Linked DNA regions of Homo sapiens: all the other regions are linked to region 1. Evidence: promoter capture Hi-C in 16 types of primary human blood cells and fetal thymus (Javierre and others, 2016). All regions are on one chromosome and are shown on one strand. Each heading gives the region's core, a stretch centred on a gene start or on the middle of the fragment in contact. The rest is flanking DNA. Distances are from core to core; before and after follow the strand shown.

Region 1 (3,024 bases), core at 141-2,640:
AGTCTTTTGATTCTTCATTTTGGTCTTTCCACAAGGCACTATGTGAGACTTGCTCCCTCATTTCTTTTTAGAAAGAAAAGTACAATAAAATGCAAATAAAAATAAAACACCTATTATAAAGCAGCTTTCTATTAAAGGATATTCATATATTCTTTGAGAAAAAATAATCGACTCAATATGTGTACCCTTCTTGTAGTCCACCTGATAGTCTCATTTCAGTGACTGAATCTAATCTATTCTGGAGTCAAACTGAAGGAAAAAGAAAAAATATTCATATGTGAACTTTTAATTCTATTGCCTCACTATGAATTTGCATCTAGGTGTTAGCCCTTCTCAACCATTCCTTTCTCAATTTCCCAGTGATGTTAGCTGAGTGTGTGTGTGTGTGTGTGTGTGTGTGTGTGTGTGTGTGTGTGTGTGTTGGCTGGGGGGAAATCCCCTGCACTCACTAATATGAACTAAGAAAAAACAAAACACAAAGCATCTTGCAGTTTGATGTAAAAGAGATGTTGGGGTAGTATATGGATGATGTATTATTCTCATTTTTTACTGAGTATCAGTAATCATTGCAAAAGTGTTGTATCTTATCCTAAAAGTATAAGAAATGTAATTTAAAATAAAAACTAACATTTAAGTGCCAACTACATGCCAAATTCTTTACTTGCTTTATCTCATTTAATGTTCCTAGCTACTCAATGAGGCAGATATTTTCCTCTCTGTTTCAGATAAGGAATTTCTGAAAGGTAATTAACTTCACCAAGGTCACCTGGCAACAAGTAGAAGAGCGAGAAGTAGGCTCATAAAAATTATCTCAAAATTCTTTCATCAACATTCTATGATGCTGCTTCTTTTTAACAACAACAAATGTTTTTTAAATGGAAAATCTGGATGTGCCATGGAGTTTTACAAATCCAGGTATTTAGGTGTATTTATGGAACTTGTTCTTTGGCTTCCTGTTTTTTAAAAATTATAGTGTAAAGTTCATAGAGATCTGGAACTTCATTCCTTCTATGAATGACTGCTCATGGAGTCTGGTAACATGCAAAAGTTTCAGTGTTTGCTACCATCCTTGTTGTTACCACCTCCTTCTTATCCTCCTTCTTCCTCATGTATAGAGACCATATAAGACAGTTTGCTGGACAATTCTGGTTTGTGCCTATAGCTTTGCATAATTATCATTATTATTCATTCCCCAAAGTGTCCTGGTTTAGATAATTTCATGGTCACCTTAACGTTCATAACTGAAAGTGTCAAGGGTGTTGTATTGCAGGTGCCCACTAGGTGTCAGCAGTGTGACCTCCAGAGAACCCTCAGAGAAAGGATTTCATTACAAAAGTCAAATCAAAGCAAATAATTAAGTGTAGTTCCAGAGCTACCTGAAGCCGTGGTCATTCAAAACAAATGAGAGGACAGGGGGAGGAGAGAAGGAACAAGCGCAGATCAGGTAGCTCCTTCTTGGGATCTGATAGACAGGGAAGGTTTCCTTTCCTCATTAGAAGGACTCCAGTGATCTGTGGAATGAGCACTACAGTATCCTTTTAAATTTTCACCCACAAGACAAAGCCAGTATGCAGTGAAATGAGGAAATGCCTTTAAGTGAAGAGATTTTTATTTCTTTCATAAATTGCTCAAGCCATGATTGGATGGAGGTCCTCCAGGTAGCTCCATGGACTTTAACAAGTCTATTGAATAACTGCATTTGAGTTGGAAGCTGAGTTGCCTGAACACAAACGATTTAAACCAGATTAGAAAGTGTCTACATACAGAGCTCAATAACACACTCGGAATCTTCTTGGGAGGACCCACAGACTGTACCTATATTACTTTTGACCCAGGTGGATGCAGTCACTCTCTAGAAGCCTCCCCGACTTCAGATGTGTGGCACACATCCACACAGGGGTGTAGGTAGGAGAAGCCCACAGGAATGGCTCTGCAGATGTTCGTGACTTACAGTCCTTGGAATTGTTTGCTACTGCTAGTGGCTCTTGAGTGTTCTGAAGCATCTTCTGATTTGAATGAATCTGCAAATTCCACTGCTCAGTATGCATCTAACGCTTGGTTTGCTGCTGCCAGCTCAGAGCCAGAGGAAGGGATATCTGTTTTTGAACTGGATTATGACTATGTGCAAATTCCTTATGAGGTCACTCTCTGGATACTTCTAGCATCCCTTGCAAAAATAGGTAAGTCCTTAAACACCTGGTTTGGTGAGTTATCTTTTTACATAAGATAGTGAATGTGAAAATGCCTTATAGATAACGGGCTAAGAGGATTTTAACTGTTACTGCTATTACATTAAAAATTCTCTTCCCTTCAGTCAAGGGAAAGTCATAACTGCATTTTACTAAGCTATTTAATACTTTGAGATTGCTCTTTGAAATTTGAGAGCATACTTCTGGGTACTGGGCTGTGTTGGTTTCTTCTCATTTCAGGGTGACAACCATGTGACATTGTTGACATGCAAAACTCTCAAATTCTATGCTTTAAAAATATAGAGAATAAAGCACGTAGACCTGGGCATGATGCAAGGTGGAAATTTCAGGAAACACATAATGTTTCTTCTGTAAAATATTCTTGGCTGTGTAATTGTGGGCTTCATCAATCACCCCATTGTTTATTCTTTAAAAGTAGCGTGTGCTTCTTGCAAATTGACAGAAAGCAAAAAACAAGAAAACCATAGGCAACTTGTATTACTCAGTGATGGGATGTCGGGGCATATAAGATTATATCTGTCAGTAAAATATTAGTTTATACCTACCAAGTGGGGCCAGTGAGGCACCTCTAATTTCCTTTGTGAAATAAAGTGAATCCAAGTTAATAGATTAAATTCCAATCAAGGGATCTTTGTGTCAAAAACCAAAGAGGTGGCTATACTCTGTGACTGTTTAATCCCTAACTGCTCCTCCTTATCTCTTTAAAACCAGCTTATTCTAAAGTGGAAAATTAATATAATTATCTCAAATGCTAAGCACAATGCCTCCTTTGCCTCAGCTATAAACTTTATGCTATTTGAGTATGTAGATTGCC
Region 2 (3,089 bases), core at 518-3,017, 460 kb before region 1:
TGAGCAAGTTTTGGACCCAAAGCCTGACCATGGGCTCTCTGTCCTTCAGGGGCTGCCAGAAGCTGCCGGTTTCGTGGGAGGCATTACAAGCGGGAGTTCAGGCTGGAAGGGGAGCCTGTAGCCCTGAGGTGCCCCCAGGTGCCCTACTGGTTGTGGGCCTCTGTCAGCCCCCGCATCAACCTGACATGGCATAAAAATGACTCTGCTAGGACGGTCCCAGGAGAAGAAGAGACACGGATGTGGGCCCAGGACGGTGCTCTGTGGCTTCTGCCAGCCTTGCAGGAGGACTCTGGCACCTACGTCTGCACTACTAGGTAAGTCTCCCTGTGCGGGGCTGGGGAGGGGATCCTGGCAGGATGGAGGCTTGTGAGGGTCTTCAGTCATGATCCGGATCTCAGAATCCAGTGTACAAAATACAAATCCAGTGAATCCACATTGCATCCCGTTTGCTGTTCCTGACACCCCCCCCAACCCTACAGTCTCATTCTGTCTCCATTTAGTCTTTGCTCAAATGCCACCTCTTTGGAGACAACGTCCCTAGCCATTTTAGCTGACACCGCCCTCTGTCACTCTCTCCTTACCCTGCTGTAGTTTCCTTGCGATAAGATTTTCCCATCTGACACATTTGTGTGCGCTACTGTATTTAATGTTTGTCTACCCATTAGAATGTAAACTCTGCAAGGGCAGGGACTTGGTCTATGTTGTTCACTGTTGAAGCCACATGGTAAGGAACCAAGAAATAGACATAGAATAGGATTTTACTCTGAATAGGATTTTAGAGCTGGGTGAGACCTTAGGATTAAATTAGTCCAACACTTTGGGCGGCCGAAGAGGGTGGATCACGAGGTCAGGAGATCACGACCATCCTGGCTAACACAGTGAAACCCCGTCTCTACTAAAAAAATACAAAAAAATTAGCTGGGCATGGTGGCGGGCGCCTGTAGTCCCAGCTACTCAGGAGGCTGAGGCAGGAGAATGGCGTGAACCCAGGAGATGGAGCTTGCAGTGAGCGGAGATCGAGCCACTGCGCTCCAGGCTGGGCGACTGAGCGAGACTCTGTCTAAAAAAAAAAAAAAAAAAAATTAGTCCAACTGCTCGTTGTAAGGATGAGGGAACCAAGCTGGCTTGGAAAGTTCCCCAGGTGGTGCGTGGTAGAGCTGACTCTGGAGCCCGAGTCTCCTGACCCTGGGTCCAGTCCTCCTCCCTCTTTGTCCTGTTGCTTTCTTCCCCTTTAACTGTAGAAAAAATACACATAACAAAAAATTTATCATCTTAAACAGTTTTTAGTGTACAGATCAGTGGCACCATCACCATTATCCATCTTTAGGAGTTTTTCATCCTCACAAACTGAAACTCTGAACCCATTAAACAATAACTCCCCTCTCTTCTTCCCTCCAGCCTCAGGCAACCACCACTGTACTTTCCGACTCTATGATTTTGACGACTCTAGGTACCTCGTTTAAATCGTTTAAGTGAAATCAGTCTTTCTGTGACTGAATTATTTCACTTAGCATAGTGTTTTCAAGGTTCGTTCATGTTGTAGCATGAGTCAGAGTTTCCTTCCTTTATGAGGTGGAATATTATTATTCCGTTTTATGTATGTACCACATTTTGTTTATCTATTTATCCATCCAGGGACACTTGACTTGCTTCCTCCTTTCAGCTATTGTGAATCCAATATGAACATGGATGTGAAGATATCTGTTCAAATCTCTGCTTTCAGTTCTTCTGGGTATAGACCCCAAAGAGGAACTGCTGGATCATCTGTTAATTCTATATTTAATTTTGAGGAACTATCATACTGTTTTCCATAGTGGCTGTACCATTTTTCATTCCCAACAACAGTGCCGACACTCAATTTCTCTACATACTCACCAACACATGTTATTTTCTATTATTTTTGATAATAATCATCCTAATGGGTGTGAAGGGGTCTCTCATTGTGGCTTTGATTTCCACGTTCCTAATGATTAGCGATGCTGAGCATCTTTTTGTGTGCTTATTAACCATCTGTGCATCTTCGCTGGAGACACAGACATATCTCCTTTATGGACTCTAAGTCCTTTGCCCATTTTAAAAACTGCATTTTGCTGTTGTTGTTGAGTTGTAGGAGTTCTTTACATTTCCTGGTTATTAACCCCTTGCCTTATCAGATATATAGTTAGAAATATTTTCTCCTGTTCTCTAAGTTGCATATTCATTCTGTTCATAGTGTCATTTGTTACACAAAAGGTTTTAATTTTGATCAAGTCCAGTTTATCTATTTTTTTCTTTTGTTGCCTGTGCTTTTAGTGTTAAGAAATCATTGCCCAATCCAATGTCATGAAGGTTTTCCCCTTTGTTTTCTTCTAAGAATTTTATAGTTTTAGCTCTTTTGCTTTTTGATCCATTTTGAGTTAATTTTTGTATATGGTGTTAGGTAAGGGTCCTGCTTCATTCTTTTGCATGTGGATATCCATTTTCTCCAGTACTATTTGCTGAAAAGACTGTCCTTTCCCCATTGAATGGTCTTGACATGTCCTACTCCTTCTTGATGGATGAAGTTTTAGGCCTAGTGTTGGTGATCTTAAAAAGTTTCTTGGCTTCGTTCTTCTGAACTAGGACAACCCTCAGCTTGATTGGGAACTAGTGTTTTGGCCTCTCTCTTCAGCTGCTTCATCTGTTCCTCCAATAAAAACTTCCTTGGCTTTGTTCTTCTGAACTAAGACAACCTTTGGCTTGATTGGGAACTAGTGTTTTGGCCTCTCTCTTCAGCTGCTTCTTCTGTTCCTCCAAAGGCACTGCTTGCTCCTTCCACCAGCTGGCTTCAGAGTCTCCAGATTTCATAAACTCATTTGACTTAAGAAGGACTGTACCCAGGAATATGTACATTTAGAAAAAGAACCGGAGAAGTGAGATTCTTAGCACAGTGGAAGTACTGGTGAATGGAAAAATTTCAGACCACGTCATCCCCAGTCCTAGGCTGGGTGTGTGTGTGGCAGGGTATGTGGGGGGTGGGAGGAGATATGAGGTAGAGGGTGCCCTCTGTGTGTGTGTGTGTGTGTGCATGTGCGTGCATGTGTGAAATTAAGAATCTTTTCAAATTAAAC
Region 3 (2,802 bases), core at 284-2,783, 370 kb before region 1:
ACCAGGGCAACTACAGCCTCCTACCACACATCATTCACTGTGGACGTCTTAGTCAGTCAAGACTCTGGCATTTGTTTGGTTTTGTTTTCCACCAGTGCTTTGCTTTTTCATATGCCCTGTCCTGTACTTAACAATATGAGGTTAGGGAACTAAGAATGGGATTTTAGATTTGTCTGTGTTAAGTCTCACTATGTTAGATTTGGCCTATGGTTCTATCTTAATGGCGTCTTTTGGGACCCTGATTTGCTCTCTCAGTGAATTCACAGTTCATTTTAACTCCAGGACTCCCAGAATGTGGTAAGCTTGCCTGCTCTGCCCTTCTGCTGTAGAAACCTGTTCTGCACCTCCCAGCTCCCTCCCCAACCCCTGGCTTGGCCTCGAGGCATTCTCCTTTCCTGCATTCAAGGCCTCCAGGAATATTACCACACACCATCTGCACATCGTCGGGTTCTTTTGGCCAATGCCAATTTGATAAATTTTTTTGGCTTCAGTGTCCAGTTCTGCTTTCTAAACTTGTATTTGCTTCCTTTGGAAAATGTATTCCTTCTTTCTACCCTCCCTCCTTTCCTGCATTCCTCTGCTCTGTACTCTCCACAATTGAAGAGTGCCATGACCATGTCCATGCCCAGCCTGGCTGCCTCTTTTCTGGGAGGAGAGGTCAGCTCCACACCTGAGAGCCAGGATGGAACCAAATACCTGGAACTGAGCCTGAGGCTTTCCAGTAGAGCATACTCTTCTAATTGACTCATTTACCATTGAGTATGGGTGTTTATACATGTATCCAACTCTACTAACCATATTCTTTGTTTTGCTCACAAGACAGATGTTTGCAGATACTTACATGAAATTCTGATTCACTAAGTTCACAGCATTTAACTGTGGTAATCTCACCATCTAACAACCTCATCAAACAAAAGATTGCATGAGCTTCACCAGACCTGGCCTGTTTTTAGTCATTTCATGCTTTCTCTTGGTGATCGTGGCTTCCTTAAGTGCTGAAAGACTATCCCTGTAATCATTCATCTAGAATCTTTCCCATTCCTTCATCTGTGCTTGCAAAATCCCTTAAACTCAGTAATGGGTGTGGAAGCTGTCTGTCTGGAGGTATGAAGAATTAAGGGATGGCATTCTCCCCGGAGGTTTGATAGAAAGCTGGACACAGTGCGGTCTGGAAGAGTCATGGGGATGATACGAATTGTTCATGTATCATTGCCTGGAATAGGAGTATGATAAGCAGCCAGGCACTCAAGTCAGATCCTTAGGGCCTGACCACAAAGGTTACCAGTGGCCATCGGGGATGGCATGGTTAATTCTCTAGTGTAAAGAGACAAAGGTTAAACTAACAGAATGTGTCACACTGGAAAGCATTTTGGAGATCAGGTCAATTAGCACTCCCTGTGTTACTGTCCACACAAGTCACCCAGAAAGCTTAGTCAAATATAGATTTGAATTCAGTGGTTCTGGGGTGGGCCCTAATGTTCTGCATTTCCATCGTGCTCCTTGGTGATGCTCTTGGCTTATGGGCCACACTTTGTGTCCCAAGAGTTTAGACTATACTGTTTTGTTTTGTTTTTTCAGATGTAGAAACTGAGATCCAGTGAGATGAAGTGATTTTCCCAAAGATACATAGATGAAGTTGAAGCTTAGCTCTTTAACCCAGGTCTGCTGGCGTCCAGGTTGGTGTCTCTCTAATTATAGAATTGCTGGACTTAGGAAAGCAGAAGTCTCCTGCCCTCTCTTAATGACCCATAGCATGTTGAGGGGGAGCCAAGGTTAGATTCTAGGGTTGCACATACTTGCACAAACATGCACACACATACACACATGCTCATGCACACACATGCACACACATACTGTACGTGCTTCTTCCTATTCTCCTTTTTCAATTGGGAGGTATAAGAAACACATGGATTACAGCCACATTAAAGATATTCATAAATGCAAATCAATTCTGAATGTGTAAACTTTTCCATAAGAATATTCTGGGAAAATACTTGAGTTATTTCTGACCTTTTATGTATAAACACAGACATTCTGGAGTTTGTCAAAGACCATGTTACTGATAAAATTGTGTTAGAATGACGTCTTCTGATAGTTTAAATGTTAAAAGCTCTGGGCTCGGCTCAGGGAATTCTATACTTTAGCATTCATAAAGGACCCTAGAGTTTGAGAGATTATCCATTAACTTCTGATATTGAATTTTTGTTGCCAACTATGACTATTTGTTTTCCCTGAACTCTGTAGGGGAACAACACAGCTGACAAAACCCAGGCAAAAGCGTGTGTGTGGGTGCGTGTGGGTGCATGTGTGTGGCGTGTGTGTTCACACAGGTTAACTAAACAGTGCAGATTCCTCCAATTTTTCTCCTTTTTGAGAAGTAGGAAGGAGCAAGAGAGAAGAAATCATCTGGAGTGGAAAAGAGGGCTGGAAAAGTCCTTGAACTAATAATCTGCCAATTAATCCAGCTGCTTGGAAATAGCCTGGAATTGGAAGGTCTTTTGGGTGCTCTCTGGAAAGGGTACCAGGAAGTATGAGACAATGGCTGCTAGGAACTTGCACTGTTCCTGAGTAGATAAGACCTGTTGTCAAGTAAATTGCGGTGGATCCCTGGTAACACTTGAAGAGCAATGCAAGCCTGGGCTCCACCTGGGCTCTACCCCTGCCTGACTAAGGGAGCTTGGGGAAAGTATTTACATAATCTCAATCAGTTTTCTCACCTGTAAAATGGGCCTAAAGAATTTAAATTTCCATGCAAGTCAAAACCATAATGAGATATCATCTCACACCAGTCAAAATGGCTAT
Region 4 (2,823 bases), core at 8-2,507, 440 kb before region 1:
AACATCTACATGAGTTTTGACATTCATTCAACAAAAACATATTATGAGTCTATTTTGACTAGACTCTATGGGAGATGTTGTACATACAGTGATGGTTAAGACATAGTTTGCCTTTCAGGAAGCTGGTTGTTCATTTTGAGACTGAAAAGAATAATTTAGTGCTAAAGCAGAAGAATCAGCAAGAATTGGTGAACTTTTTTGGAAAGGGCTATCCAAAAAATAGCAATTAAAAATACACACATTGGAATGTATTAGTGAACTGAGAATTAGACCCAACTTCATAACAACATGTCTGAAAATAGAAGGAAGGGCATTAAAAGAATTGTAGACAAACTGAATAAAATGTACCCAGAGCCTCTTTCATATCATATACCAAAAATAAAATCCAGATAGATAAATGAGTTCAATTAAAAAAAAAAAAACTCCAATGGCAGGAAAATCAGCACGGCTGGTGACTCCACCTTTCAGGTCTCTGTTCAAATGTGACCTTCCCAGAGGGAAGGTCCCCAGAGAGGACCTTCCTTCCTCTCTGTCCCCTCACCCTGCTTTGTACCATTGTAGCTTTTATCACCACCAGACCTTCCAGTATAGATTTGCTTGTTGATTTTCAATTTATGTTTCCCACCCAAATGGAAGACCCATGAGGTCAGAGAGATTATTTTGGTCCCAGCTGTATTTCCAGTACCTCAAAGCAGGCATTTAATGAATATTTGCAGAATAAATGAAGATGGGATGAACTCTCTCTTGTTCATTACCAAAAGACTTGCAAGAGTAAAGGTGAGTAGGCTTAATTACATTATAATTTCTGCACAACAAAATAACAAAAGCAAGGTTTAGACAAAATTGTGTCAGACAAGTTCAAGGAATGAGTAACTATCATGTGTAGAGTTATTCAAAGTCATAGAAAAGGCATGTGTCTTAGTCTTTTTGGGCTGCTACAACAAAATACCATAACTAGGGTGGCTTGTAAACAACAGAAATTTATTTCTCACAGTTTTGGAGGTTGAGAAGTCCAAGATCAAGGTGCGAGCAGATTTGGTGTCTGGTGAGGGCCCACTTCCTGGCTAATAGACGGCAGCCCTCCTGACTTAATCACCTCCCAAGGGCCACAACTCCTAATACCATTGTATTGGAGGTTAGGGTTTCAACATATGAATTTTGGGAGGACACAAACATTCAGTTTATAGTAGCATCATCACCCTACAGATGAAAAAATGTGAGTAGGGGATTGCAGAAGAGACACACATAAAGGAACTCATGGAAAAATGACACTTTCAGTAAGAACCAGGGGATGTAAATTAGAGCAAATTTGAGATACCAGTGCACTCACACACTATCAAGTGTTTAAAAGTTTTTATGAAACACTCTCACACTTTAATTCAATTTATAATTTGGTGCTGGGAAGAAGAAAGGCAACATGAGCCAAGTCAGTTGGGTGCTGGACCAGCTTGCATCTTCTTGCAAGAGCCCAGGATGTGCCTCTCTTCTTGGCTCTGTTCAGTGATGTCATGTTGGTAGCTTAAAATCTGTGGCCATTGTGGAGTCTTTACACCACAGAAATTGGCAGTTGCCACAAATCAGCACTCTCTTCCCCAGTACATAACAACAAGGTTTGAGAGATGCCCAGTGATACTACTCCTGGGAATTTAGCTTAGGAAATAATTTAATAAAATAAAATCATTAGAGATATAAAATAATTTAATAAAACTTATTACCCCAATGATGAAAAATTATGCAGCAATTATCAATTATAATGATCAATACTATAATGACCAAATTATCAAAATTGTAAGACTTAAATGTTTACAGTGTTAAGGAAATATTATACATTGTTTTGTACAATTTTTATGGTTACAATATTGACATTTGTTTGCATCTAGACAAGGAGAAAACTTAAAAACTTGGACTTTGAAGGCAGACTTTGTGAGTTCAAGTTCAAGCACTGCCACATGGTGCCTCTGTGATCTTGGGCAAATCCTTTAATCTCAAAGTACATCAATTTTCTCATCTGAAAAATGGGGATAATCACTTAGTCCAAATTAACTTAGCTATTTAGCTATATTTTATATTTCCATTTTTCCTATTTTTCTATTTCAACTATAGTAACTGTTTAATAATCAAAAACATAGGAGGAATAGACAGAAATAAAAATTGTTGTACTTGGACTACGTGTTGACAAACCACAGCCTGTGGGCCAAATGCAGCCTGCCCTCTGTTTCTGTGGATTAAGAGTATTAGGAAACAGCCTTGCCTGTTTGTTTGCAGACTGTCTTTGGCCACTTTTGCTCTTTGAAGATAGAGTTGAGTAGTTGAGATGGCAAAACCTAGAATATTTACTATTTGGTCGTTTACAGGAAAAGTTTGCCAATGCCTGGTTTAGGTGAAGGCGGTTTTGAGCAGTTAACTTTTGACCCTCGCTTTTCTATTTTCCTGTTATCATCTCCTCTTTCCTTCTTCTGTTTTCTAAGCATTCAGGGAGGGAGAAGTACGGAGGGGCCGGCAGAGGCCTTTGAACACCTTATTAGATTTTAACCGGAAAGGAGAGGAGAGTGAGGTTTGAGAAGGAGGATTCGGTGAGGACGTTGCACAGGGTTCTTTGACTGCTTCTGCCTTTTCTTTATCTTCAGGCTTGGGGCCACGCGCTTGCATCTCTCTTCCTTCCTCGAACTTCTCCAGTGCTCTCTGGAGTCCCCCGCTTTAGATTCTGGCTGTTTCAGCAATGACCCAGAAAAGGAGCTGACTGCAGCCGGAGGAGAACCACCATCGGCTTTCAGACTCTGCCTTGACCTCACAGGTTACGCATTTCCTCCCCTCCACTATTTC

Evidence for each region. Contacts are between HindIII fragments. The CHiCAGO score rates a contact against its expected background, and 5 or more counts as called.
Region 2: a fragment that was not itself captured here is called in contact with the fragment with the promoter of SLC9A4 in region 1 in 7 of 17 cell types (non-activated CD4 T cells, naive CD8 T cells, activated CD4 T cells and 4 more); the score reaches 11.1 in non-activated CD4 T cells.
Region 3: a fragment that was not itself captured here is called in contact with the fragment with the promoter of SLC9A4 in region 1 in 1 of 17 cell types (non-activated CD4 T cells); the score reaches 5.6 in non-activated CD4 T cells.
Region 4: a fragment that was not itself captured here is called in contact with the fragment with the promoter of SLC9A4 in region 1 in 7 of 17 cell types (naive CD4 T cells, non-activated CD4 T cells, naive CD8 T cells and 4 more); the score reaches 9.5 in naive CD4 T cells.

What each region holds. Positions count from the first base shown.
Region 1 is chr2:102,471,836-102,474,859 of GRCh38, forward strand. It overlaps SLC9A4 (solute carrier family 9 member A4), which reads left to right and starts at 1,391. Exons shown (of 12, transcript NM_001011552.4): 1 at 1,391-2,180. The coding sequence starts at 1,925. The HindIII fragment of the contact is 5,984 bases long and covers 1-3,024 here.
Region 2 is chr2:102,009,513-102,012,601 of GRCh38, forward strand. IL1R2 (interleukin 1 receptor type 2) reads left to right here. Exons shown (of 9, transcript NM_004633.4): 3 at 50-314. Among named protein-coding and RNA genes, the nearest start is that of IL1R2, 19 kb to the left of the region's middle. The HindIII fragment of the contact is 5,709 bases long and covers 1-3,089 here.
Region 3 is chr2:102,099,686-102,102,487 of GRCh38, forward strand. It overlaps a transcript of IL1R1 not described here. Among named protein-coding and RNA genes, the nearest start is that of IL1R1, 42 kb to the right of the region's middle. The HindIII fragment of the contact is 214 bases long and covers 1,427-1,640 here.
Region 4 is chr2:102,028,676-102,031,498 of GRCh38, forward strand. No RefSeq gene overlaps it. Among named protein-coding and RNA genes, the nearest start is that of IL1R2, 38 kb to the left of the region's middle. The HindIII fragment of the contact is 7,742 bases long and covers 1-2,823 here.